Regions from separate parts of the Homo sapiens genome. Here all the other regions are linked to region 5. Evidence: promoter capture Hi-C in human tissues and cell types (Jung and others, 2019). All regions are on one chromosome and are shown on one strand. Each heading gives the region's core, a stretch centred on a gene start or on the middle of the fragment in contact. The rest is flanking DNA. Distances are from core to core; before and after follow the strand shown.

Region 1 (4,028 bases), core at 875-3,374, 870 kb before region 5:
AAAAATAATTTAATTGTGTTAAATTAAATTAATTTAATCGCCATTTAATTTAAATGGGCGAATTATACTGTATGCAAATTATCTTAAAATGTTATTATATAAAAATACTGAATGAGGTGCATATTTTAGTGCATATTTTAGTAAATGAATGAAAAAATGCTATGAGAAAAAATCAGAGGAAAGATAAGCTAATAATATGTGGGAACTGGAAGAATGGTCAAACTTCTCCAAGAAGTTAATATTAGAGACAGATCTTGAAGTTTAAATAAGAGTTTACCAGGGTGGGAAAAAAAGGAGGGATATAGAACCTACTCTGCACATAGCATGTTAATTTTTGATTTTGATATTCTGTTCTTCCTTCCCTGAAAATTTCCACTTACTGTCACAACTTCTAATTTAAGATTCAGGATCTGCTGGACAAGAAATAATATTAAATAGTTCAGGGATGTTCAAGAACTTTTAATAAGAATCTAAATTTCATGACGTTCTTCCCATATTTTTGACCAGCAGTCAACAATGTTTTTCTGTAAAATGATATACAGAAAATGTTTTAATATCTGTAGGCCATACGGTCTCTGTTGCATCTTCTCAGCTCTGCTGTTATAGTGTGAGAGCAGCCATTGATAATATGGAATGAAGCGAGTATGGCTGTATTTCAAGCAAACATTATTTACAAAATCAGGTGGCAAGTGACATGTGGCCCACAGGCTGTTGTGTGCTGGGTCCTGCTTCATATTCTCTGGGCTGCCTTCCTGAACTCCTCTCCAGTTCCCATTTTTCTGCCCCTGCAGAGACCACCAGCCTCAGTTGTCTTCTAGTAGCTTACTTAACTAATATTTTGTGTGCTTTGGATGGGGTGGGTAGCAGGATTATAAAGCATGGTTTCTGTCCAGGCGTGGTGGCTCACACCTGTAATCCCAACACTTTGGGAGGCCAAGGTGAGTGGATCACCTGAGGTCAGGAGTTTGAGACCAACCTAGCCAACATGGTAAAACCCCGTCTCTACCAAAAATACAAAAATTAGCTGGGCCTGGTGGCAGATGCCTGTAATCCCAGCTACTTGGGAGGCTGAGGCAGGAGAATCACTTGAACCCGGGAGGCAGAGGTTGCAGTGAGCCCAGATTGCACCACTGCACTCCAGCCTGGGCGACAAGAGTGACACTCTGTCTCAAAGAAAAAGAAAAAAATAAAATAAAAAAGCATGGTTTCCTCTGGTAAAACCTACTAATATCATCTATAGTAAACTTATTCAGACTTATGTTAAAATTGCATTATGAACCACAAAAAATAAGTAACAGCTAACTGATAAATCCATAAATAAAACAACTACCACACTTACACCTTATCCTTCTTGTTTTACAATCATCTTTAAATGTGAATTTAAAAAAAGATGGTGTCATATTTGAGGAGGCATAAATATACCAAACACTTATAAAGACTGAATAACAAGGGACCTCTTACCTTGAATTCAGACTTAGGGTATGCACAGTTTCAGCTCCTTAACTCTTAATAGCAATGTTGACTGAATCTTGGGTTTCAAATAATGTTAAATATATGTTATGTCCCGGAAATACTACTCAGAAGTTTTAGTCTCTAAACTCTGCGCCAAAGGAATATTTTATGTTTGGACAACTCTACACAAAATAGAGCTAATATATACAAACACAGACAGCTACAAATGGAGGCAAGTTTCACAGAGTGGAAAGAACACTGGGCTGGCAGTGAGGCGACGTCAGTTCTTACCCTCCCTTAGGTATTCAGTATTGGTAGGATACTAAAGAAGTTGCCTCTGAACAACTTACAGAGTTTTTCTTATATGAGAGTGTTTCGTAAATTTTATAAGTGATTGAAAAAGAAGTTAAATGTTATTATCTCATATTTTCAAAATTTTGTTTTAAGGAAGCAACCTTCTGAAATAAACCAAACTGTATTATTTGAAGATCATTCTCTGAAGTCCAAAGATGAAACAGATCAAACACTGTATCATTTGTTAAGAGTACTTCTAAAAGTTGGGGTTGCTGTACTCCAGAAAAATCAAAGAACTAAGGTAACAAGTAAATCTTTGTATGTGGGACAATGGCACTTTTGATACTATAGTAGTAAAAATAGTGTCTTTCACTCTAAGACACTTCCTAACACTGTGTGTGCAAAACATTTCAAAGCTTTAATATTCACCAGAAATTATTTATCAATAATGGTTCAAATTTCTTTGTTTGGTGAAGAAGAGAATAACCATAGTCTCTTGTTGAAATTGGACAGTATGAGTGTTTGTAGCTGGCCAAGAAAGAAATGAGATTCCCAAAGGAATATATCAATATGTCAATAAGCAAAATAACTGCTTTGCTTAGAACTGAAGTAAAACAAAACAAAGAAAAAACACTGATAAATAGAATTTCTCTCACTCTGTAAACACAAAGAATTACATATTGCCAGAATTACCTGTTAAAATGATTTGCTGAACTTTCCAAAGGGATTTGAGACCTGGGGTATTTTTAAACAACCAAATCTATGAAAATGATTAGATAAGTAAAATAAATAAATAATATTCACAGACATTTCTTAGTATACCAGCACATCCATTCTGATGATAACTTTTAAAATCAGGATAGAGAGATTATGGACTGAGTCAAAATTACACAGAGCCCATGAACGAGTGTTTTCACAGGAGCAGCTGTGAGACAGAATAGGGAGCACCAGAATCGGAACCATTTTCTATTATTCAGTGGCCTTACAAAACTGATGATGGGGTTCTAAAGATAGGAAATAAGATCATCCTGACAATAGTTATTATTACACCTTTTAAAGGTCACTTACTTCTGACCTCCTCTGTCTTGAACTATCCTTAACCAATATAGAGAAGAACTGCAGAATAGAAGAGTTACATTTTGCATTCACATGAGGTCATTTACTAACCACATAACTCTGAAAGTCACTGTAACTCTTCAGGCCTCAGTTTTCTCATCTGTAAATGTAAGGGGTTAAGACTTATGATTCTGAAAATCGCTTCTATGTCTGATGGTTTACGTAGGCTAGCCTATGGAAGTGGAGAGGAAAGGTTCTTATTTTTTCCAACTTATTTCCTTTAAAGTTGTATCACGCTGTTTCTTTTTCAATCAGCAAGCAAATCTTTCAAACATAAAATGTTGATGAATAGGCTTATCCATAAAGGAAATAAACAATTGCATCAACAATTTTCAGATAAAATGATCAGGTAGAATTGCCTAAGAAGTCTTATTAAAGAAGCTAGTACAACTATTACATTTAACAAGTTATAGGATACAAAGGGAGTATATAAAAATCTATTGCTATTTCTATATGCTAATAACAAATGATTATAAACAAATTTTAAAATACCATTTACAATAGCATCCAATATTTGAAGTGCTTAAGGACAAGTTTACCAAAATATATGCAAAACTATGATATGTAGATGAGAGAAATTAGAGAAGACATACATAAATTAAGAGATAGGCCATCTTCATGGATTGAAAAACCCAGTATTGTTAACGTATCGGCTCTTTTCAAATTGATCTAAAGATTCAAGGTAATCTCCAAATCATAGCAGCCTATTTTGTGGACAACAACAAACTGATGCTAAAACGTATACGGAAATGAAAAAAAACCCATAGAAATGAAAAAGAGCCTGTACAGACAAGGCAATCCCAAGCAAAAAGAACAAAGCTGGAGGCATCATGCTACCTGACTTCAAACTATACTACAAGGCTACAGTAACCAAAACAACATGGTACTGGTATTGAAACAGACATATAGACCAATGAAACAGAACAGAGACCTCAGAAATTACACCACACATCTACAACCATCTGATCTTCGACAAACCTGACAAAAACAAGCAATGGGGAAAGGATTTCCTACTCAATAAATGGTGCTAGAAAAACTGGCTAGCTGTATGCAGAAAACTAAAACTGGACTACTTCCTTACACCTTATACAAAAATTAACTCAAGATGGATTAAATACTTAAATGTAAAACCCAAAAGCAAGCATAAAAACCCTAGGAGAAAACCT
Region 2 (4,439 bases), core at 1,624-4,123, 600 kb before region 5:
TGGTCTGAGAGCCACAGTTCGTGGACACTCAGCCAAGTATCTTCTAAAACATGCCATGTTGCCTGCCTCTGACAAGCTCAGAAGTGTGCAATCCCCAGAGCAAGCAAAATGGTTTCAGCCACCTCCAAATCCATCAAGCTTTTTACTAGACCAGCTGAACGTGCAGCAAAGGAGAAGAGGCATGAAGGAAAGGAGAGGAAGAGCAAAGGGCATGGACTGCAAATTGGATGAACAGCATGCTTGTGAGCTCAGGAGCACTGGTATTATCATTCCAGTTTTACAAGTAAGAAATTTGCAGTGCAGCAATTCAACAGCTGGCCGAGGGCCTCAGACAGAGTCCCTGATGGAGCAAACAGGTCTCAGTGCTGCCACCTTTTCGGCTACTGCTTTTACCACTGTGGTAAAATGTTGTATAGACAAAGTCTCCATACGTGCCATCCATGGGGCAGGCCCACTGAACCTATTGCAGAGGATAGGAGGCATCTGGAAAGAAAGAGCCACAGAAGCTACTTACAGCAAAGGTTTATACCGAGTTTATACTCAGCCAGTAATGTCTGAGTGAAAGCATGGCAGAAAGATTGATGAGACAGCGCTGTGTAACTCCAGAGGCAACCCCAGGCACTTATCAAATGGGAATTTTAAAAAATCCCTTTAAACACACGAGGACTCAGATGCCAGCACACGTTTTGATGGCCCCAGCCAGACAGCAAAGGCATATTGGCACCACTGTAATTTGTCCATTCACCAATATGCTTCCCAGAAAGCACCCATATGCTTTCTTTTAGCATCCATATGCTTTTTGAGCAAGGAAACTAAAATATTTCATTAGTTTTGAGTAATTAATAATTACTTATTTCACAATAGTCACCCTCATTAAAAAGCAAAAATAACTGATTAAGCTGCAGGATCCTGGCTTTCAACTCAGGCTTTTTAAATTTTTTTAAAAAAATTCTTCCCCTCTAGGAATTGAGTAATAGGGTAAAGCAGCCAGTGTGGAAATATTCACACTACAGGGAATGAACAGTTATCACCCACAACCCAGCATTCCTCTTGACTGAGACATCGTGGTTTAATGAAAAGAACATGGACTTTGGATCAGAAAGACTTAGAATCCAATCCCAGTTTGACCCCTTCTGAATAGTAACTTCTAAGGAAATGAAGGGTGTTAAAAAGATAAAGCCTGCTGGATCCCTTCAACCCAGTCTTCCATTATTCCCAAGGAGTGACTTCACAGCATCCCCGCCCCCCGGACCCCGCTATCTCAAGGCATGGTACAGCATGCCCCAAGAATGCTGGCAGCATGCCAGGCATTGTCAGCACACCACAGCAATAGCCTTGAAATAGGGCGAGGGCCGAAGTGAATGTTTCTCAAACACTAATGAGCATATGAACTACCTGGGGCTCTTGTTAAAGTAGAGATTCTCATTCAGAAGTTCTAGAGTATGATCTGAGATTTGCATTTCTAACAAGCTCCCATGTAATGCTGATGCTTCCGGTCCTCAGACCAAACTTTGAGAAGCAAGAGACTTACAACTGTCAAGATGAAGTTAGGAAATAGAATCTTGAAAAGCAGAACATCTGTGCCTGTCTCATTGGGCTGTGATAAGGATTATTAATCAGATGGGTGATAGTATTTCTGTATATTGAACAGTACACTGGTATAGTCCTGTTAAAAGGGTATGGTTTCAGCCACGCACGGTGGCTCATGCCTGTAATCCCAGCAATTTGGGAGGCTGAGGCAGGTGGATCACCTGAGGTCAGGAGTTTGAGACCAGCCTGGCCAACATGGTGAAACCTTGTCTCTACTAAAAATACAAAAAATTAGCTGGGCGTGGTGGCTCATGCCTGTAATCCCAGCTACTACAGAGGCTGAAGCAGGAGAATCGCTTGAACCCAGGAGGCAGAGGTTGCAGTGAGCCAAGGTCATGCCGGTGCACTCCAGCCTGAGCAATAAGAGCAAAACTCCATCTCAAAAAAAAAAGAAAGAAAGAAAAGAAAAAGGGTATGGTTTCTATTACAGACAACAAACCTGAGACCCAAGTAAATCAAGTAACTTATCCAAGGCCACACAACTAATCCTGCTGACCTTCAAATACAGGTTTATCTGCCTGTCAAGCCTATCAGTGTGAGTATATGCCAACGGAAAGGTAGGAAATAAAAGTAGATACTACTGTAGATTGCTGGTATAAAGCCTTGTTCTTGTTTTGCCATTATTCTCAGAGAGCCATTAACCTGCTGTGTGAATTTTAGTAAGTCTTACCCCTTCTAACCACCTCCATTTCTGCATCTGCAAGGTGAAGGTACTGCCATTGAGAAACTCCGAGGCGTCTTCCATCTCTGACCTGCCTTTCACTCTTCTGGCCCCCCCACACACTCACAGTGGGTCATCAGGTGCTAAGCTTTAGCTTCACACATGTGGCAGTCATCACAATTTGGCAGCATCCAAATTCTAGCTGCTCACATCTGCATTTGTGCTGATCTGTGCGTGGTCAGAAGTTATCTCTGTTAAAAGTCTCAAGCTCAATATAATGGGGGGGTAGGCCGGGAGGAGGGGAACAAAATAGATGACCCAAAGCACTGAAATTCCTATTTAGGTGAAAACTCAGTATGATCAGGGCACTATGACCCTAACTACTCTTCATCTCCTCATCTCACTTACCAAATGAAGATATTGAGAGCACTAACCTGACAGAAGTTTGAAGAACAAGAAAAAAACTGAGTTATGCATAATGTGTTTCATATGATTATCTAGCTTTTTTTATTCTTTCTTAAGGAGCCAGATAAACACGTAGTTAACGAATTATGATATGAAGTAATTCATAATGTATGATCTTGTCCCTTCCTAAAATCCCATAGTACACATTCTCTGTATTCCTCTGGGGCCCATCTACCATTTTCTACCAGAAATTTCCATGGTTTATGAACTTGCATCATTGTCTCTATTTGTCTTCAATGTTATCTCTGGAGGTATTCACATATTTTGGAGTAAATCCGGATTTAAATCCAGATTTTATATTTATTAGCTGTAAAACTTTGGGCAAATTACTCAACCTCTCTGAGCACCTAGCAATTTTCTATTTTATAGGATTATATACAATAATGTATTGAGATGTCTAGCATTTAGCAAATTCTGAATTAAAATTGAATTTGAATGCATGAGTGAATGAATGAAGTAGAATAAGAGTTTCAATATTAAAATATCACTCAATAGTTTGAGATACATACATGCCAAAAGTCATGCTACAAAACGAGCCTAACACTCAGAGTATAACAATAGGTGACTACGGGGAAAATCCAACAGCAAAAGGAAATGTATGCCACTCAAATGTCATCTCATACTTCCCACATAGAATGAAAACTTTTGCTTAACTCATGGATGGCCTTCAGAGCATCTACAAACCTCCTAAACTTGTTGATAGCATTTTCTGGAGTTCTGCATTTTCCAACTATTTCATAAATTCATCTGAGTTTCTGAAAATTCCATAATCCTCACATCTGCCCCAAACACAGGATCATGTGTATGCACGTGTGCACGCACATACACACACGTATATTAAGAACTACTACTTTAGGCCAGGCACGGTGGCTCACACCTGTAATCCCAGCACTTTGGTAGGCCGAGGCGGGTGGACTCCTGAGGTCAGGAGTTTGAGAGCAGCCTGACCAACATGGTGAAACCCCATCTCTACTTAAAAAAAAAAAAAAAAATTAGCTGGGCGTGGGGGTGTGCACCTGTAGTCCCAGCTACTTGGGAGGCTGAGACAGGAGAATTGCTTGAACCTGGGAGGCGGAGGCTGCAGTAAACCAAGATCGTGCCACTGCACTCCAGCCTGGGTGACAGAGCGAGACTCCGTCTCAAAAAAAAAAAAAAAAAAAAAAAAAAGATTTGCTACTTTAGGCAGGTCCCTGGACAGAAAGGGACTGTCAAATAAAAGAGAAAAAGTAGATTTAATAAAACAAGGCTGAAAGCTGCAAACATACTGTTTGGAAAGTATGGGTAGTGGAACTTATAATGATGACCATCTCAAACCAGAAAAAGGGGCTCTGAATTCAAGATCTGGCTTGGCTGCACATTCGCTGCAGGTCCTTGGGCAAATCTGAGACTCATGAAAATCAGAGGGTTCCTTTGACATCATCTATGCCACCCTCCTCCTCCCATCTCACAGATGGAGAAAGTGCAGCTCAGAGGAAAGTTAGGCATTCACTAAACTCATAGCAAATTAATTAGAGCCAGGATTTGAACCTCAGACTCAGTCAACTGATTTCTACTCTTTGAACCTCTGTACTGTGAGGTTCCAGGTAAGTGCTTAGGTCCAGTGGTCTCTAAGCACCTTCTATCGGATGGGTAACAATTACTACACTCTTCTCCAGACCTGGAAGCCCCCATGTACATGTGAGTTTCATTTTGGCAATGATTATACTAGCTGTTTCTCAGTCCC
Region 3 (4,216 bases), core at 54-2,553, 810 kb before region 5:
TAAGTCAGGTGTAATTTTATAGATGTTAGTGATCATTTTATTCTTAATCACTAGAGCTAACAATTATTGGTAATTTACTATATGACAGACACTATGGTATATGTTTAATTTTTGCAATCTTCCCAATAAACCTATGAGACAAAACATATCATTTCTTTCCTTTCAAAAGTAAAACAAACAAACAAAAAAAACTGAAGCACACAGAAGGGTTAATTAAACTTTCCAAGCTCAAACAACTAGTAAATATGAAACTAGGATTTGACCTCAGACAGGGCAACTCCAGAGCCCTTGTATTTAACCAATATTTAGAGGGGCCTCGACTTTGACAAAAAGTAAGGCAAGTGTGAGCAAATAGCTCAGAAGAGTAACGATAACTGTTCTTATCAAGGCAATCCTCAACTAAGATCTAGATCCATTGGTCCAACTTTTAATCCTCATGGCATTTGATCCAATGGTGTGGATACCTTGATCACACACTCACTCTTGAAGCACATTTTTCACTTCATTTCTGGACACCACTGTCCTTTGCATTTCCTCCTACCTCAGTGTTTCTTGTCCCAAGCATTCTTTAATAGTTCCTCTATTTTCTCCATGACATCAAAATATTCATGGCTTCCTCCATTACCTTAGGTGATATGATCCAGGCTCAAAGCTCTAAATGTATATCTGCTGACACCTACACCTATATCAAGTCAAGAGCCTGCCCTTGTACCCCAGACTCAAATATACAGCTGTCTACTCAACCAATACTCGAATCTCTAAAAGATAGCTCAAATATAACATATTCAAAGCCAAATGGCTGATCATCCTTTCTCCTTTCTCTTCTAAACAACAAAAACAGAAGCAAAATTAATCTTCCTGTCTCCAGAAATCTCACTAAATAGCAATTCCATTCTTCTCCTTGCTCAGGGTAAAAACCTAGGAGCCATTCTTGACTCTTCTATTACTCTTATATTCCACATCTGATCTGCTCACAATAGTTGTTGAGGCTGCAATGGAAATATATCCAGAATCCCACTACTTCTTATCCCCTCCCCAACACCAACTATACCTACCAAGTCCAACCAACTATCATTTTGAGTTTGATTGTAATTTCTAGTTTGTGTTGTCACTTCTGGTTTGGATTACCACATAGCCTACAGAAAGCTGCCTGAGTGATCCTTAACATAAGCCTGATAATGTGACTCCAAATGCTCTCCATCTCACTTAAACTAAGAATAAGAGGTCCTATGAGGTTCTATGTGATCATGAGGGCCCCTGCTACCTCCCTAACCTTATTTTTCCTCACTTCCTTGGGATCACTTGGCTTCAGGCACCCTTGGCTACTTCACTCTTTCTTAAAAATGCCAGATGCCAGCCATGATCTTCTCAGACTTTTCACGCTTGTGCTTCCCTCTGTCTATAACATGCTTATCCCAAATATCTGCAGAGCTCACTTCCTCACCTCCTTGAGATCTCTCCTCAAATATCTCTTCCTCTTAAGGCTTTTCTTAACCACTTTGTGCAGAATAGCAACTATGGCTCCACTCAACCCAAAGCACTCTTTCACTTTTATCTTGCTTTATTTTTCTCTATAGAACCTAACATGTTTACTATGCCTCTCCCACAGTAATATAAACTCTTTTAAGAAAATACACATTGTTTTATGCATAGCTGTACCCTCACCCTCTATAAGACAGCTTGCCACCCAATAAGTCTTCAATAAATATGTCATAATAACAAAATAAATGACTCCTCTGGTTATTCTTATTGGAGTTCTAGAAATAAGACTCAACTTGAAGAACCCAATAGTATAAAAAGTAATGCAGCAGTGTAAGCACTTCTAAAACTGGCTTGTTGATTTGGAATCAAAGTAAAATATTATATGTCACCATAGATTTGGATTGTGAGTCATAGACTATTAAACTTGGGAGGCAGCTGTGCTGGACTAGAAAGAGAGTAACTTGGAGTCAGGTGATGATAGTTGCAGGCTTGGCAGAGCCACTGATCTGCTGCAAACCTTCAGACAAACAGCTTCAACTCTATGGGTTCTCCTATTCCATCTAAATAAAAGAACGCATCACTGTAAATCTCTAGTGTTCCATAATCTGGTATAAATTGAACTACAACTTGTTCAAAAATATTCTTTTGGGGTTTGTTTACAGGACATATCTTGCTGTTGTCAGCTCTATTTGCAAGTTAGAAAAGAAGTCACATTTGAAATTGTGTGGCTATTCTGAAAAATTATGTCACATCAATAACACATAAAGTAGGGGATAGAAGGTTTTTCCTCTCCATGCACCACAGTGGGTGGTAGATATTATCAACTACAACACAGAAGAAACAAGTTTTCAGGAGGCTAAATTCTTCCAGAAAATCTTTCTTTTTTTTAAAAAAAAGCATCAAATTCACACGTGAGAAACAACTTGCAGTTTTCCTTCAAATGTATTTATTTCTGATTCTTGATATACAGTCTCACAGATGCATGGGATGTGATACATTGTTTTCTCATAAGCAATAGAGATGACCTTTAAAAATGCACCCCCTTTTATCCCCCAGCCTGCAATCCCATGAAGATGAAAGCCAGTTTGCTATTCTGCATTAACATTTCTGTGATCAGATATAGTGTGGGCACCTCAATTCTATCTGTGTCAAGACATTTTCACACAAGTGACTCACTCGGTAGAAGCTCAGGCATTGAACACCACTCTGACACCATCTCCTTTGAGGTTGATTCCACTTTGCTGGTGTTACCAGCCAACATCCTGTTTAGCTGCTTTCCTCTGCAACACAACAGTGTAATTGGAAGTGACTGAATAATAAATCTCAATTTCTCTGTTTCATCAAGAGAATCTTCCAATTTACTAGGCTTCTTCTATTCACCAGTTCATCTTCTGCATTATGAATCATTCTTGAACAAACACACAAGTTAACTGTCCGTTCCTATGTTAAAAACACGGTGTAGCAGGGATAATTCTTTCATTAGATTTCCTAGATCTGTTTTGTGGGGATCTCAAAGAAAAGCTAGTGTTGAATATATAGACAGGTCATCCACCTCCTCACATGGGTAATGCCAGCTCCAACATGCACGAGCTCAATGTGCGGCCATTCCAAGGCATCTCTCTGTCCTAAGTAACCCCCTCCCTGCTACCAAGCTTCAGTCTTCCAAATCTGAGTTACCTTTGCTTAATGTAGGTCTACCTGAACTTTTTACCCAGAACATTATAAATCATGAATGGCATTCTCACAGGCTAGAGGAAAAACAAGTAGGAGGAAAGGGTAGAAAAACACATGATATGGGAAAATAATGATAGGTACATGGCACTAATATGTGTCCCAAGTATACTGAGTCAAAAAATAGTCTTCATTTTCCCATGTTTAAAATGCGAAGGATGGTTGGGTACCACAAGCTACCCACTTCAATTGTTTGACATCATTATAGATTAAATATTCCTCTACTAGGTAGAATTGAATAGCTCTCTATGGCCATCAGAATAACTTCAGAACTCTTTACATTAGCACGAAACACACTTTATGACTGGCTGCTTCATTTCTTCTCACAATCTCAGCCTCCATGCATTAACGTTGTGAACTTATCTACTTTCCTAAAAACAGACTGTGATAAGCATAAGAACAGCCCTCCCCACCCCGCCAAGAATGTACACACTCTAATTCCTCGAACTTGTGAACATGTTGATTACAAAGACTTTGCAGATGTGATTAAGGTTAAAGATTTTGAGACAGGGAGATTAGCCTGAATTATCCAGGTGAGCCTCATCTAATCACATGAGTTCTTAAAAGCAAAGAATCTTTCCCAGCTGTGGTCAGAGAGACATGACTATGAAAGAGTGGTCAGAGAAATGCAATGTCACTAGAAAGACAGAGTCCGAGAGCCAAGAAATATGGGCAGCCTCTAGAAGCTGGGAAAGGTAATGACTATGACTAGAGCCTCCAGAAAGGAACGAAGCTCTGCTGACACCTTCATCTTAACCCAGTGAGTCCTGGACTAGAATTCTGACCTACAGCACTGTAAGATAAGAAATTTGTGATGTTTTAAGACACCAATTTCGTGGTATCTTGTTACAGCAATAATAGAAAACTAATCTGTAGACTAGGCCCACTCCTATTCTCCAGTCTTTGCTCATCATATCTTAGGAGCAGTTAATGGTCCTTATGGCATCCTCTACTTAGTTCCCATAAAGTTTTCCAGATGACAGTTAAATCAGTAATATATGAC
Region 4 (4,150 bases), core at 267-2,766, 890 kb before region 5:
TTCTGTTCTTTTACGTTTGCTGAAGAGAACTTTACTTCCAAGTATGTGGTCAATTTTGGAATAGGTGTGGTGTGGTGCTGAAAAAAATGTATATTCTGTTGATTTCGGGTGGAGAGTTCTGCAGATGTCTATTAGGTCCACTTGGTGCAGAGCTGAGTTCAATTCCTGGGTATCCTTGTTGACTTTCTGTCTCGTTGATCTGTCTAATGTTGGTCTTTTGGTCTTTGATGATGGTGATGTACAGATGGGTTTTTGGTGTGGATGTCCTTTCTGTTTGTTAGTTTTCCTTCTAACAGACAGGACCCTCAGCTGCAGGTCTGTTGGAATACCCTGCCGTGTGAGGTGTCAGCGTGCCCCTGCAGGGGGGTGCCTCCCAGTTAGGCTGCTCGGGGGTCAGGGGTCAGGGACCCACTTGAGGAGGCAGTCTGCCCATTCTCAGATCTCCAGCTGCGTGCTGGGAGAACCACTGCTCTCTTCAAAGCTGTCAGACAGGGACATTTAAGTCTGCAGAGGTTACTGCTGTCTTTTTGTTTGTCTGTGCCCTGGGCCCCCAGAGCTGGAGCCTACAGAGGCAGGCAGGCTTCCTTGAGCTGTGGTGGGCTCCCCCCAGTTCGAGCTTCCTGGCTGCTTTGTTTACCTAAGCAAGTCTGGGCAATGGTGGGCGCCCCTCCCCCAGTCTTGCTGCAGCCTTGCAGTTTGATCTCAGACTGCTGTGCTAGGAATCAGCGAGACTCCATGGGGTAGGACCCTCCGAGCAAGGTGCGGGATATAATCTCGTGGTGCACCGTTTTTTAAGCCCGTCGGAAAAGCGCAGTATTCGGGTGGGAGTGACCCGATTTTCCAGGTGCCGTCTGTCACCCCTTTCTTTGGTTAGGAAAGGGAACTCCCTGACCCCTTGCGCTTCCCGAGTGAGGCAATGCCTCGCCCTGCTTCGGCTCGCACACGGTGCGCGCACCCACTGACCTGCGCCCACTGTCTGGCACTGCCTAGTGAGATGAACCCGGTACCTCAGATGGAAATGCAGAAATCACCCGCCTTCTGCGTCGCTCAGGCTGGGAGCTGTAGACCGGAGCTGTTCCTATTCGGCCATCTTGGCTCCTCCCAGAAATTCTTAAACATAATCCAGGGATCTGTTTCTTAATCTGAATACCATCCTTCAATTTCCTTTTCAACGATCTAGGCTAGGCATTGGGTAAAACAGGTGACTCTAACACAAAGAGTTTATTACTTGCAAGCAGCTTCTCCACATAGTCCTTTTTCCAGTAATCTGACACCACTTTTTATCAGCCCGGTGACTGGAATTTCTCCAACACTAAATTCAAATCAGGAATTGGAATTCACTTCAATAAACATTTACTGAGTGCTTATTGTGCCACTGGGGAAGTGCTAAGTTAAGGAATAAACTCATTTAAACTCGACTAAAGAACATATCATTCTCCCACACCCCAGGACATCTTCTGATTTCTCACTATATCAGATTCCAAAACCAGAACTTCTAGATTCTGATACATTAGGAATGAGAGCTGAGATGCTGATTTTTTGAGACAATTTCCACTCCTCAAAACACGAGAAATGGAGCCTCTTAGAGGCTCAGTAGCATTGTGTGTATTTCCCTTGCACACACACGTTCATTTCTCACATGGTTCGGAACGCCTTGTCTGAGCATGTCAAAATAATCTGAATAAGCCTGTTCTCACAATATTTGTGGACAGACTAGAACCAAACGTACTGGTAACCTCTTGAGAACAAGCTGTCTCGTGAGATTTATGCCCCACAGTTCAAAGGAAAGGAACTTAGAAACATATCCAAACTCTCAGTATTTATTTAGATGCAACGACAAGCTTTCTAAGCTGTCCCCACTGATGCCCAAGAAGCACTATCACAAAATAGAACCTTTCAGACAATGCAGCATGTGAGTTAGAGACTTCTGAATGCCTAGAGGCATCAGAAATCTAATCGTTCTCCTAAATGTCTATGAGATTAATATCAAACACAAAATACATATTTTAATAATATAATTTAAACATGGAGCCCATAAAGTTTGCAACTCACAACAAGAATTATTTTACTCTAGTTGTAACTCTTCTGCCATGTCCCACATTAGGGAGATGGAGTGGTTGACAAGAACCAGATCTAGAAGGACGGCTGCACAATCTCTTTCTGGTCCCTATTCTATCCTCGATGCCAGTGGTCCCCAACCTTTTTGGCATCAGGGACCAGTTCTGTGGTCTCCAATTTTTCCATGGATTGGGGCATGGGGATAGTTTCAGGTTGATTCAAGTACTTTACATTTATTGTTCATGCTATTTCTATTACTATTACATTGTAATATATAATGAAGTAATTATACAACTCACCATCAGTGGAATCAGTGGGAGCCCTGAGCTTGTTTTCCCAAAACTAGATGGTCCCATCTGGGGATGATGGGAGACAGTGACAGATCATCAGGCATTAGATTCTCATAAGGAGCACGCAAAATATATCCCTCGCATGTGCAGTTCACAATAGGGTTCACGCTCCTATGAGAATCCAATACCGCTGCAATCTGACAGGAGGTGAAGTTCAGGCAGTAATGTGAGTAATGGGGAGTGGCTGTAAATACAGATGAAGCTTCGCCCACTTGCCCGCCACTGACCACCTGCTGTGCAGCCTGGTTCCAACAGGTCACGGACTGGTAGAGGTCCATGGCCCGGGGGTTGGGCACCCCTGCTCTGTGCCTGTAGGACCATGAGCAAATGACTTCAGGCCTCATTCTCTTCATCTATTTCTTCTGTCACTGAAACCTTTGAGGGCAAGGGATTGTGTCTTCTCTACCTCCATTCCTATCACAGGGCCTGGCACACAGTAAGTGATCAATAAATGTCTGCAGAGCAAATGAGAAAAATAATAGCTTTAAGCCAGATACTATATAAACGCCCCTCCAATGCTAAAGTTAATTTGGCAAAGAAAATATCAGAGTGGTCATTTGAATCGCTGAGAAAAGAAACGAAAAGAAAGAGAGCTTTGATTCCAGAATCTGAGACACTAAGTGCTTCCCAGTATTTTCTTTTTATTAAGGTTTATGTAACTATTCTTTATATGGAATATTTTCATGCAGACTTTTGTGTAGATCCCCTTAAAATATATCTTGTGTTGACCGACAGACTGATGGTAGTACAGTTTTGGTCTAATCAAATTATGCATTTTATCTGATAGTTCCATGGCAGAGAGAGTAAGCCATGTCTGGAACAAAGTGAAAAATGAGATCAGAAGGTTAAAAGCCTTCAAATTATTTCCATGAGCAAAAGAGTAAAAAGGAATAACTCTATAGTACATTATACAACATATTGAAGAGGCATCAGTCAAAGATGGAACTGTGATAACAGCTTGAAGAATGATATGAATGATATATAGATGATATATAGATGTACTTTCAATTACATCCCTGCCATTTTACTTGTAAATATTGTGACTGTATTACCTCCATTTGGCAAGAGTGACAGATTATTTTTGTTAGCATGCCCCTCCTCACCCTATCTGACTTTATTTTAATATACTCATGCCATTAGAATATGTTATCTGGAAAAAAATCACTGTGGGAAGAAAAGATGAGCGTGTTCATTCACTGTAGACAGAGGACCAGGTTTTGTATAGTCTTTCTTATTGTTACTCCAAAGAATGTAGTTCACAGCCATTCTCATCGAGAGGTGTGCTAATACTGCTCACAGGAATGCTGTCTGCCACCAGTAAGCCTTACAATACCAGTTATGTAAGTAACTGGTTATTAATGCTTTTGCTTCTCAAATTACAGCAAGAAGAGTGATAGAAGCTTTGACAAAACAACACAACAGCATTTACATGGTCTGTGTAAAGAACTGTGTCTTAGCAGTGACGTGGGAGGTGACCCGGGTGGGTTCTGTTTAGACTGGTTGATGCCTGTGTGCTACCAGCATATGTGGTGAATTTTACTACACAGTTCCCTGTTCTCAAGTACTCATAGCCCAGTATGATAGTGACAACATATCTTGTTCAAGATTGAAGTAATCAACACATCTATATGACTTGGAAGAATCATTCAAAGACTGAACACTCAGATATCCCTACTGGTTCTGTCACTAGGTCACACTGGGTGATGGCTGGCCAACAACTTTCCTCAGATTGCATAAATAAG
Region 5 (4,179 bases), core at 524-3,023:
AGGACTCTCATAGCCAAGGCTCAGAACAGCCTGACCTTTGAAAGCTGCTTCTGGTCCAAACATTTTGGGCTAATTCTTGAGGAATCTGAAATATTATTTTCCCCTCACACCCTTCTTTTAAGAGAGAGACATAAAAGAAACAAGAGTCTCCCTTATTCAGGGATGAGTAGGAGGGGAAAAAACCCGAACCAACATTTAAATAAGGAAACTAGCAGCTCTGAACAAACAAACTAGGACCCACAATGAAATGATTCTGCACTGCAATTGCCTTTAAAAAGAAAGTAATAGAGAAAAAGAGAAGGAAAGAATTTCTCCTTCTTCTCTACCCCCCCCCCACCCCACCCCCCAACTCAGCTTCAAAGCTAAGAAGACTGTGCTGCGTGTAGTGCATTGTAGTTGTGGCAGTCTGTTCTAAATACAGGCAGTATCTGTGATACTGGCACGGCAGGCCTTTAGAATTCCCTCCGGCTGATCTCTTAAACACAGACTGAAGAGATTTTTTTACAACGACCTTGAAACGAGCCTCGAAAACAAAAATCTCAAGACCTTAAGAGAAAACAAAACACAAACAGGTATTTGGCTCACAGAATTTTGTAGAAAACACACACATACCACCCCGCCACCCCCACCCTCCCCCCCACACACACGTTTCTTGCAACAAGAAATTTCCCAAGAGTCAACAATAACAGATTAAACCCACCACTTGCTGTCCTGGAAAGAAACAAACCAAACCAAAACAAATCCTTTGAACATTTCTCTGAAGTGCAGGAGAGACACACTTCAGCAAAAGTCCAAGGGGGAAAAAGAAAATTGCACCAAAGGAAAAAAAAAAAAAAAAAGTGGGGGCTGGGATTGTTACATATGGCCAAAAATTTAAGCTTCTTTCAATAGTATTAGTATTGAAATAATACATCTTTAAAACGCTTGAGGGATTAGATAGGGAAAGAAAAGGCACGTACAAAAAAATCCAACCGATGCCGATCCTGTGATTTACGTAACACCACAAACTTGCAAAAGGCAAAAAATCAGAAGCAAAAATCCATAAACCATCAAAATACAGAAACCAAAAATCCCAAGCCACCACACCAGAAAGAAAAAAACCCAGAACAACAGCAAAAACCCCTGTCCTAAATAAAAATAAAGCAAATGAACCCACCGAAAACTGCTTGGCAAATATTTTTCTCGTGGTGCCTAATATTCTAGTTGGAAAGAGCTGTGATGTTTATTTTATTTTATTTTTCTCTTACTCGCCTCTCTAACCCTACTATATATATAACATACTTTTCCCAGTGGTTCAAACCTCTCGCTCCCTTTTGTGCATTTAGCTCGATCTGCTGAGTTTATGGGTAAGAAAGAAGGAATTAGCCCCAGACCCCGGGAAAGCAAAGCGCACTCCCCCTCTTATGTCACCGAATAGCAAATTAGTTCTCAGAATTCCAGAGGCCGAGCTTTGCTACAGCGAAGGCGCCGACGTCACAGAGGAGGAGCCCACGTGATGGTGGCGGAGCAGGCCATACCATCGTCTTGGGCCCGGGGAGGGAGAGCCACCTTCAGGCCCCTCGAGCCTCGAACCGGAACCTCCAAATCCGAGACGCTCTGCTTATGAGGACCTCGAAATATGCCGGCCAGTGAAAAAATCTTGTGGCTTTGAGGGCTTTTGGTTGGCCAGGGGCAGTAAAAATCTCGGAGAGCTGACACCAAGTCCTCCCCTGCCACGTAGCAGTGGTAAAGTCCGAAGCTCAAATTCCGAGAATTGAGCTCTGTTGATTCTTAGAACTGGGGTTCTTAGAAGTGGTGATGCAAGAAGTTTCTAGGAAAGGCCGGACACCAGGTGATTATTGCTGTTGCTGCCGCCGCTGCTGCTGCTACTGCCGCCGCCGCCGCTGTTGCCGCTGGTGCCGCTGCCGCCGCCGCTGCTCATGATCATTATTTTACCTTTTAATTCTTTTTTTTTCCGCTCTTGCCAAATGCTTTGGCTCCAAGTTTTCTATGTGTATCTATTGATATAAATGTATATATTTATTTATTCTAGCTGTCAGGTGTTAAAATAAATGCCGAAGATTAGTCCCACGTCTCTCCCACCATAGGATATAGATTGTTATGTATTTATTATTATTATTGTTGTCTTTGAGTGAATCGGCCGGTTTGGGGAGGCTTTTGCCACCCTCCCTTGTGTTGTTTTGGTTTTTGGAAAGGAGGTGGAGGAGAGGAAGGAGGGGAATTAGGGGGCGGCCGGAGCAGAGAGGACGAGACAGTGCTTGGGGGGTGATTCGGGCTAGTCTGGGGGCTGTCTGGCCCCAGACCGCGGAGAGGACGCGCGCTCGCGCTCTCGCTCTTTCTGCTGCTGCTTGCGTACGGCTTGTGATCTCTCTGGATTCGTGCGGCTGTGTTTTTTCCCTCTTTTCTCGCTTGCAAACTGCTTTCCTTGCTCCGTCGCTCCTGGCCTCCGCTTCCCTCCCTCCTCTTTTTCCTCGCCTCTTCTTCCTTCCCTTCCCCTGTCCTTCTGGGTAACTCCGGGAGGCAAAAAGGGAGGCTGCCCGCTCGCTCGCCCCGCTGGCTCTCTTCCATCGGCCTCGGTCTTTTAGATTCCCTGCCTTCGAGCCGAACCGAGATTTGGAAGGAAAAAATGCAAGCGAACTCTTTGGGTTTTTGTTTTTGTTTTTTTGGTCATAAATCCAGATGAGATGAAGTATCGTGTCTACTATTTCCTTTCAGAGCCGTGATCTTCCTAATGAGAGCCGAGTGTTTTGGTGTTCCCTGCCCCTGTGTTTTGGGGAGCTTGGGGGCGGGGATGTTGAACACTTTGAAAATTATTCTTTCTTGGTTGTAGTCGAGGGAGTCGGGAACCTCCGCGCGCTCTCCCTGCTCATCCCGAGGAGAGAGACTGATGGCGGGACAGGGCTTCTTGGGGTGGGTGGGAAAGGGGTGCGCACTGCACCTGCGATGCCTTTCAGTGTGCGGGGGGACTCAGGGAACCTCGACAGGACAGCCTGGGAGAACGAGAAAGGTGGCGGGATTTCTGGCCGCTGCGGTGTTTGTATTTTGGGCGCTGCGTGACTCTGTGTTGGCTCCCAATGGCTGTTGCCTCCCTTTCCTAAATTTTATTTTATTTTTTCCCATGGTGCAAGCTCTGTAAAAAGGGAACTGCGGGCCTGAGCGTAGTGGACGCCAGGCTTCAGATTCCCGAGGTCCTTACCTTGGGCGAGGAGAAAGACGAACAGAGCCCCAGCCCGCGTTCCTTATGTGCAAGACTCAGGAGGAGAGAAGGGCACTTTGTGGCCGTGGCTGAGGGGACCCGGCGCGGGAGGAGCGGGCGCGGGCGCGAAAGGGAGATCTTTGTGAGTGATTTTGCAAAAATAGATTGCGAGGTTGGTTGGATTTGCAACCTGTGGCTCTCCTCGAGGGAGTAAGAATGGGGGAAGGCGCGGCGGCGGCGGCCCGGGGAGGGAGTGGGTAGAGTTGGAGCCTCAGAAATCGGCTGAGCTCCGGGGGCGGGCGGGGAGAAAGGGCGGGGGGGCAGCAGGAGCTAGGGGCCACCCCGCTGCCGGATGTAGTGACCGTGGTAAATGTCTTGAGAACTGTGGGTTGCGTTGCCTTTATGATGCCGTGTTATTGGAACCCTGGCGAAAAATGGAACTAGTGTTGCAATAATGAGTTTTAAAGCTCCCCCATGGAAAACAAAAACACAACCAAACCGATTTTTTAAAAAAATGAAAAAAGACCCTCTGTGTTGTGTTCCCTTCTACGATGGTTGTGTTGGTGGCTGGGGTTTGGGGGTGGGGGGTCCTGACAGTTGAGCAGATAAATGACCCCAAACCAGGTGCTGAAAGTCCCAAGCTGTCACAGGGCCCCTGACCACCTCAGAGAGCCAATCTCCACTCCGCGCCCCCTCCCCGCCGGCCCCCGCCACCCCACAACCCGCCAGGATTTAATCTTTTATGGATTTTTTTTTCAGTTTATAGTTTCCAGGAGGAAAGTCTTGTAACGCTTTACTTTTTCTCTTCTTTTTTTAAAGTAAAGTGAGTGTCAGTAGATGTGTTTTTTACAGTCTGGATTTTAAAAAAAGTGGGGCAGGAGAGAGGGAACCAGGGAAAGGGCTGTTTAGAAATACAGTTTGTGGCTCTGAGCGATGCCACCGGCTTCCTCTACAGAGACTGCCAGTTTCCCTTTTTCTTTGCA
Region 6 (3,891 bases), core at 66-2,565, 510 kb before region 5:
CTTTGTGAGGCCAAGGCAGGCGGATCACTTGAGGTCAAGAGTTCAAGACCAGTCTGGCCAACATGGTGAAACCCTGTCTCTACCAAAAATACAAAAATTAGCCGGACTTGGTGGTGGTGCATGCCTGTAATCCTAGCTACTTGGGAGGCTAAGGCAGGAGAATCGCTTGAACCTGGGAGGCAGGGGTTGCAGTCAGCCGAGATCGTGCCACTGCCTGGGTGACAGAAAGAGACTCTGCCTTAAAAATAAATAAATAAATAAATAAAATAAGAATAATAAATAGGTGAAAGTGATAGTGTTGATTTTTATTTTCTTCTTTAACCCTGTTTACAGTTTCTGAATTTTCTATGAGAATATATTGCCTTTATATTAAAAAAAAAAGAAGGTCATTTAAAGACATGTAAACAACCACCACCATAAATAAGCCAGGCTCTCCTTTCACTGAGTTTAAACATGAGCCTTCCTTACCAGTGAGCCTGCAGGGGATATTCTGTAACTAGGTCACCGGATTTTACGCCATCACAGTAGTCCTCTCCAAATGTTCACCAAAGCTACCAATAGCTCAAGAGATTAGCTTTGGACAACTGCTGAATTGAACAAAGTAACACATACACTGGGGGAAAAATAATTTAGGAAATGCCTACAATATTCTTGGCACAGCAGTAGATATCAAAATTAAGAAGAGGCTGCCCCACCCTGCAGAAGCTTACAGTAGTAGAAGGGGAGAAATTATATACATGCATAAATAAGAATACCTTGAGGTACAATGTGAGAAGTTCTACAAGTGTTCCTGCTCAATGCAGTGTGGAAGTTCTAGGAAAGGAAAGATTATTTCTAGCTGCTGGAAGGACAAACAGCTTCAGGACAGAGTTAATGTCTCAGCAGGATCGGGCAGATCCCACACCAGGGTATAGTTCATCTGGCTGGTGCCCAAGAATGGTAAAGAGTGGCCTTAATTAGAGCAAGAGAGACTGGTGTCAGGTGTGGGGTGAACACTCAATGTCATGCTGGGGAATTTGGGTGTATTTCCACAGAAGCAAGGCAAATGTCTCTGGATGCACTCTGGGAGCCACGGTGATTATCTCCATGGAAGCCATTCTTTTATATGCAATAGTAAATTAAATTAGCAAACAAAAATCAAAGAGACTACAAATATTCAAGCTAGTATAAACAAGCCATAGTATGTTCTGGAGTAAAATTATTAGATGTGATTGTGAATACCCCATAACTAGAAAATACACCCCTTCTGTGTTGAAAATCTGGTGAGGGGAAGAGATTACAAGGGAAGACAGCAAAAGCCACAGCACTGACTTTTGGTTGCTCCCAATAATCCAATCCAAAGTGGTTAATTCCTCTTCTCTGGGGCCACTAAATTCAGCATCTGTGTCCATCCCTGTAACACCCTCTCCACAGCCTAAGACATCTCAAAAAAATATAAATGTTCTCAGTGAATAAATCCCACCCTTCAATGGAATGGTAACATCATAAGATTGAGGGTTCATAGAGTCAGAAAAAAAGTATACTGTACCAACAAAATAATGAAAAGTGGACTTTCTGCCCCCTAATGCGGTGATCGTCTTCTCTAGACGAATCTTAGAATCCCTTCAGTACTTACTTTTTTTTGCGCTAATAGCGAGAACCCCAACCTAGCCCATTCAAATCAAGATCTCTGGAAGGTGAGGGCTGACATGCTTACAAACAAAAAGCTCCATGATTCCAGCACTTTGGGAGGCCAAGGTGGGAGAATCACTTGTGCCCAGGAGTTCGAGACCAGCCTAGGCAACATAGTGAAACCCTGTCTCTACAAAATATACGAATTAGCCAGGCGTAGTGGCGTGTCCCTGTATTCCCAGCTACTCACAAGGCTGAAGTAGGAGGGTTGATTGAGCCTAGAAGGTTGCAGCTACAGTGAACCATAATCATGCCACTGCATTCCAGCCTGGATGACAGAGGGAGACGCTGTCTCAAAACAAAACAAAACAAAACCTCCCCAAGTGATTTTAATGCGCAGCCAGTGTTGAAAGTCACTGTTAGAAGTTTGACTGAAATGTTCAAAGGGAAGGGAAGTAAGAACTCAAATAAATGGGAAGAACTGACTGACCATTCACTTCAAGTATCACAATAATCCCTAATCACAAACCAGTTCCTTTTCAGGTCTCTTTCCCTGGTTGGGGAGTCCAGGATGAGCTCTTTGTAGTGGGAACATCTGGGCCCCGTGGGCCTGTCAGCAGATGCCACACAGAAGTGTCATGAGCATCAGCACACAAATCAAGGACACCTTGTTAGTAGGGCTCAGCGCTGGTTTTACTTATCACTGTAATAGTACAGGTGAAAGTAGGAGTGTGTGGAATTCAATTTACAGGCTTTAATGCTGTAGCAGCACTGGGTGGAAGGTGGATATAGGCTTTGCAGTTAGGCAAACCAACATTTGAATCCTGGCTCTGCCACTTTCTAATTGAACTTAAGTAAGTCTTTTAATCTCTTTGAGCCCCAGTTCCTTATTTGCAAAGTGGGAAAGAAAACACATGTCTTGCACGTTGTTTTTCTTCTAAGATTAGGAATGATGTGTGTACACAGACTGGGTGCCCAGTGAACAACAGTAAATACTACTATGATTACTGAGCAAAAAAACAACTTGAAGTTGTCTTCAAAATTGCATTCCATGACCAAACTATGAACTGAGAACAAAAGTGAGAAACAGATAAGGTAGACAACCAATTTCATATCTCATAAACCAGGAAGAAGTATTATTCACACTTCCCATGTCAACAAAAAACCAGTCTGTTTAAACTACATGTCAGTTCCTTTCCCTCAGTTGTGTCTTTCAGCAAATACAAACTGGCTTGGACTTTAACTGTCGTTAAATCTTGTCTTTTCTCTATTCAGTCTTTGTCAAATGACAGAATGGCAAAGCTGAAAGGTGGCCTCAGGAGGTAACACGACCGTCACCCTCACTGTGCAGGTAAAAGAGGACACCAAGGCTTTCCCAGGACCACACAGCTCATCAAAGCCTGCCCATCCTCAAGAAGTCATTAGCAGTCAGAAAAAAGCTATGAGCAGAAAGCTAATTAATGAGCTTATCAACACTTCTTTTCATAAGACAGGGAAAATGGAAATTAAAGTCTTACTATATGTGCATCAGGGACAGTTCTAGCACCAGAACTAAGATTCAGGTCTATGGGATCTGGAGCACTGGACATAGAGTATGGAGATGGGGTCACATGATCAGGCTTCACCACGACCTCATAACCTCAGACAACTAATGCCCATCACGTCTCTATGCCACATATTCCCTCTCCCTAATGGTATCACACTCCCTAACTTCCTCAAGGATTACTGGGAAATTTCTGGATGGTGACCATGGAAACAATCTGCAAATTAATAGGAGATAAATGTGAGAGGCCTATTCCAGTTAGACTTTGAAACACCCACACGTATGCATGTGTACCTCCCTGCACAAATGTATGAAGAGCCACTGATAGATATGCACCCATTACCCACTTGGGCCAAGTGCCAAATGACTGAATGTTAAAATCAATAGTAAGCCAAAGCTGAGACTGAAATCTCTCATTATCATCGTCTGAATTTTTGTGATATAAGAATACACATGAAATTTCTCTGTGTTAAAAATCATTTATCATTGATGTTGCTATACGTAATTTGGGAGGTTTTCCTGATCAGGAAATGTTGAGAGACAGTGTAGACACTCTACTTTTAATTTATCTTCAGAAAATGTGAAAAAAAATCTTAAATAGGCTTTTTCTTGAAAGACTGATGACCTTAAGTGTAATTAAATAACTAAAAGTTAAAAATGGTTCTTAATGGTCATTCTGTTTGGTGTCATAAATGCATTCCACAAACAACCCAGTAACAATTATAATTATTGTATAA

Evidence for each region. The method cuts DNA at HindIII sites, captures the fragments that hold promoters and counts their contacts. A contact is called where the count stands out against the background at its distance.
Region 1: a fragment that was not itself captured here is called in contact with the fragment with the promoter of BCL6 in region 5 in 1 of the 25 tissues and cell types used here (lymphoblastoid cells).
Region 2: a contact is called between a fragment that was not itself captured here and the fragment with the promoter of BCL6 in region 5, in 5 of the 25 tissues and cell types used here (IMR-90 fibroblasts, aorta, bladder and 2 more).
Region 3: a contact is called between a fragment that was not itself captured here and the fragment with the promoter of BCL6 in region 5, in 2 of the 25 tissues and cell types used here (IMR-90 fibroblasts and dorsolateral prefrontal cortex).
Region 4: a fragment that was not itself captured here is called in contact with the fragment with the promoter of BCL6 in region 5 in 4 of the 25 tissues and cell types used here (aorta, bladder, heart right ventricle and 1 more).
Region 6: a contact is called between a fragment that was not itself captured here and the fragment with the promoter of BCL6 in region 5, in 4 of the 25 tissues and cell types used here (IMR-90 fibroblasts, dorsolateral prefrontal cortex, psoas muscle and 1 more).

What each region holds. Positions count from the first base shown.
Region 1 is chr3:188,616,184-188,620,211 of GRCh38, reverse strand. All of the region lies in intron 7 of LPP (LIM domain containing preferred translocation partner in lipoma), which reads right to left. LOC124906316 (a long non-coding RNA gene) reads left to right here. Exons shown (of 5, transcript XR_007096213.1): 3 at 1,900-2,047. Among named protein-coding and RNA genes, the nearest start is that of LPP-AS1, 50 kb to the right of the region's middle. The HindIII fragment of the contact is 7,946 bases long and covers 1-4,028 here.
Region 2 is chr3:188,345,696-188,350,134 of GRCh38, reverse strand. The region is part of intron 3 of LPP (LIM domain containing preferred translocation partner in lipoma); the gene reads right to left. Among named protein-coding and RNA genes, the nearest start is that of FLJ42393, 170 kb to the right of the region's middle. The HindIII fragment of the contact is 3,208 bases long and covers 1,270-4,439 here.
Region 3 is chr3:188,552,308-188,556,523 of GRCh38, reverse strand. All of the region lies in intron 6 of LPP (LIM domain containing preferred translocation partner in lipoma), which reads right to left. Among named protein-coding and RNA genes, the nearest start is that of LPP-AS1, 14 kb to the left of the region's middle. The HindIII fragment of the contact is 5,615 bases long and covers 1-4,110 here.
Region 4 is chr3:188,632,998-188,637,147 of GRCh38, reverse strand. All of the region lies in intron 7 of LPP (LIM domain containing preferred translocation partner in lipoma), which reads right to left. All of the region lies in intron 2 of LOC124906316 (a long non-coding RNA gene), which reads left to right. Among named protein-coding and RNA genes, the nearest start is that of MIR28, 54 kb to the left of the region's middle. RefSeq lists enhancers at 212-763, 764-1,316. The HindIII fragment of the contact is 6,552 bases long and covers 1-4,150 here.
Region 5 is chr3:187,743,062-187,747,240 of GRCh38, reverse strand. BCL6 (BCL6 transcription repressor) reads left to right here and starts at 1,773. Exons shown (of 10, transcript NM_001706.5): 1 at 1,773-1,831. It overlaps BCL6-AS1 (BCL6 antisense RNA 1), which reads right to left and starts at 3,572. Exons shown (of 2, transcript NR_173091.1): 1 at 3,197-3,572; 2 at 1,215-1,997. RefSeq lists an enhancer at 2,135-2,660. The HindIII fragment of the contact is 4,851 bases long and covers 422-4,179 here.
Region 6 is chr3:188,256,416-188,260,306 of GRCh38, reverse strand. All of the region lies in intron 2 of LPP (LIM domain containing preferred translocation partner in lipoma), which reads right to left. Among named protein-coding and RNA genes, the nearest start is that of FLJ42393, 80 kb to the right of the region's middle. The HindIII fragment of the contact is 5,784 bases long and covers 1-3,891 here.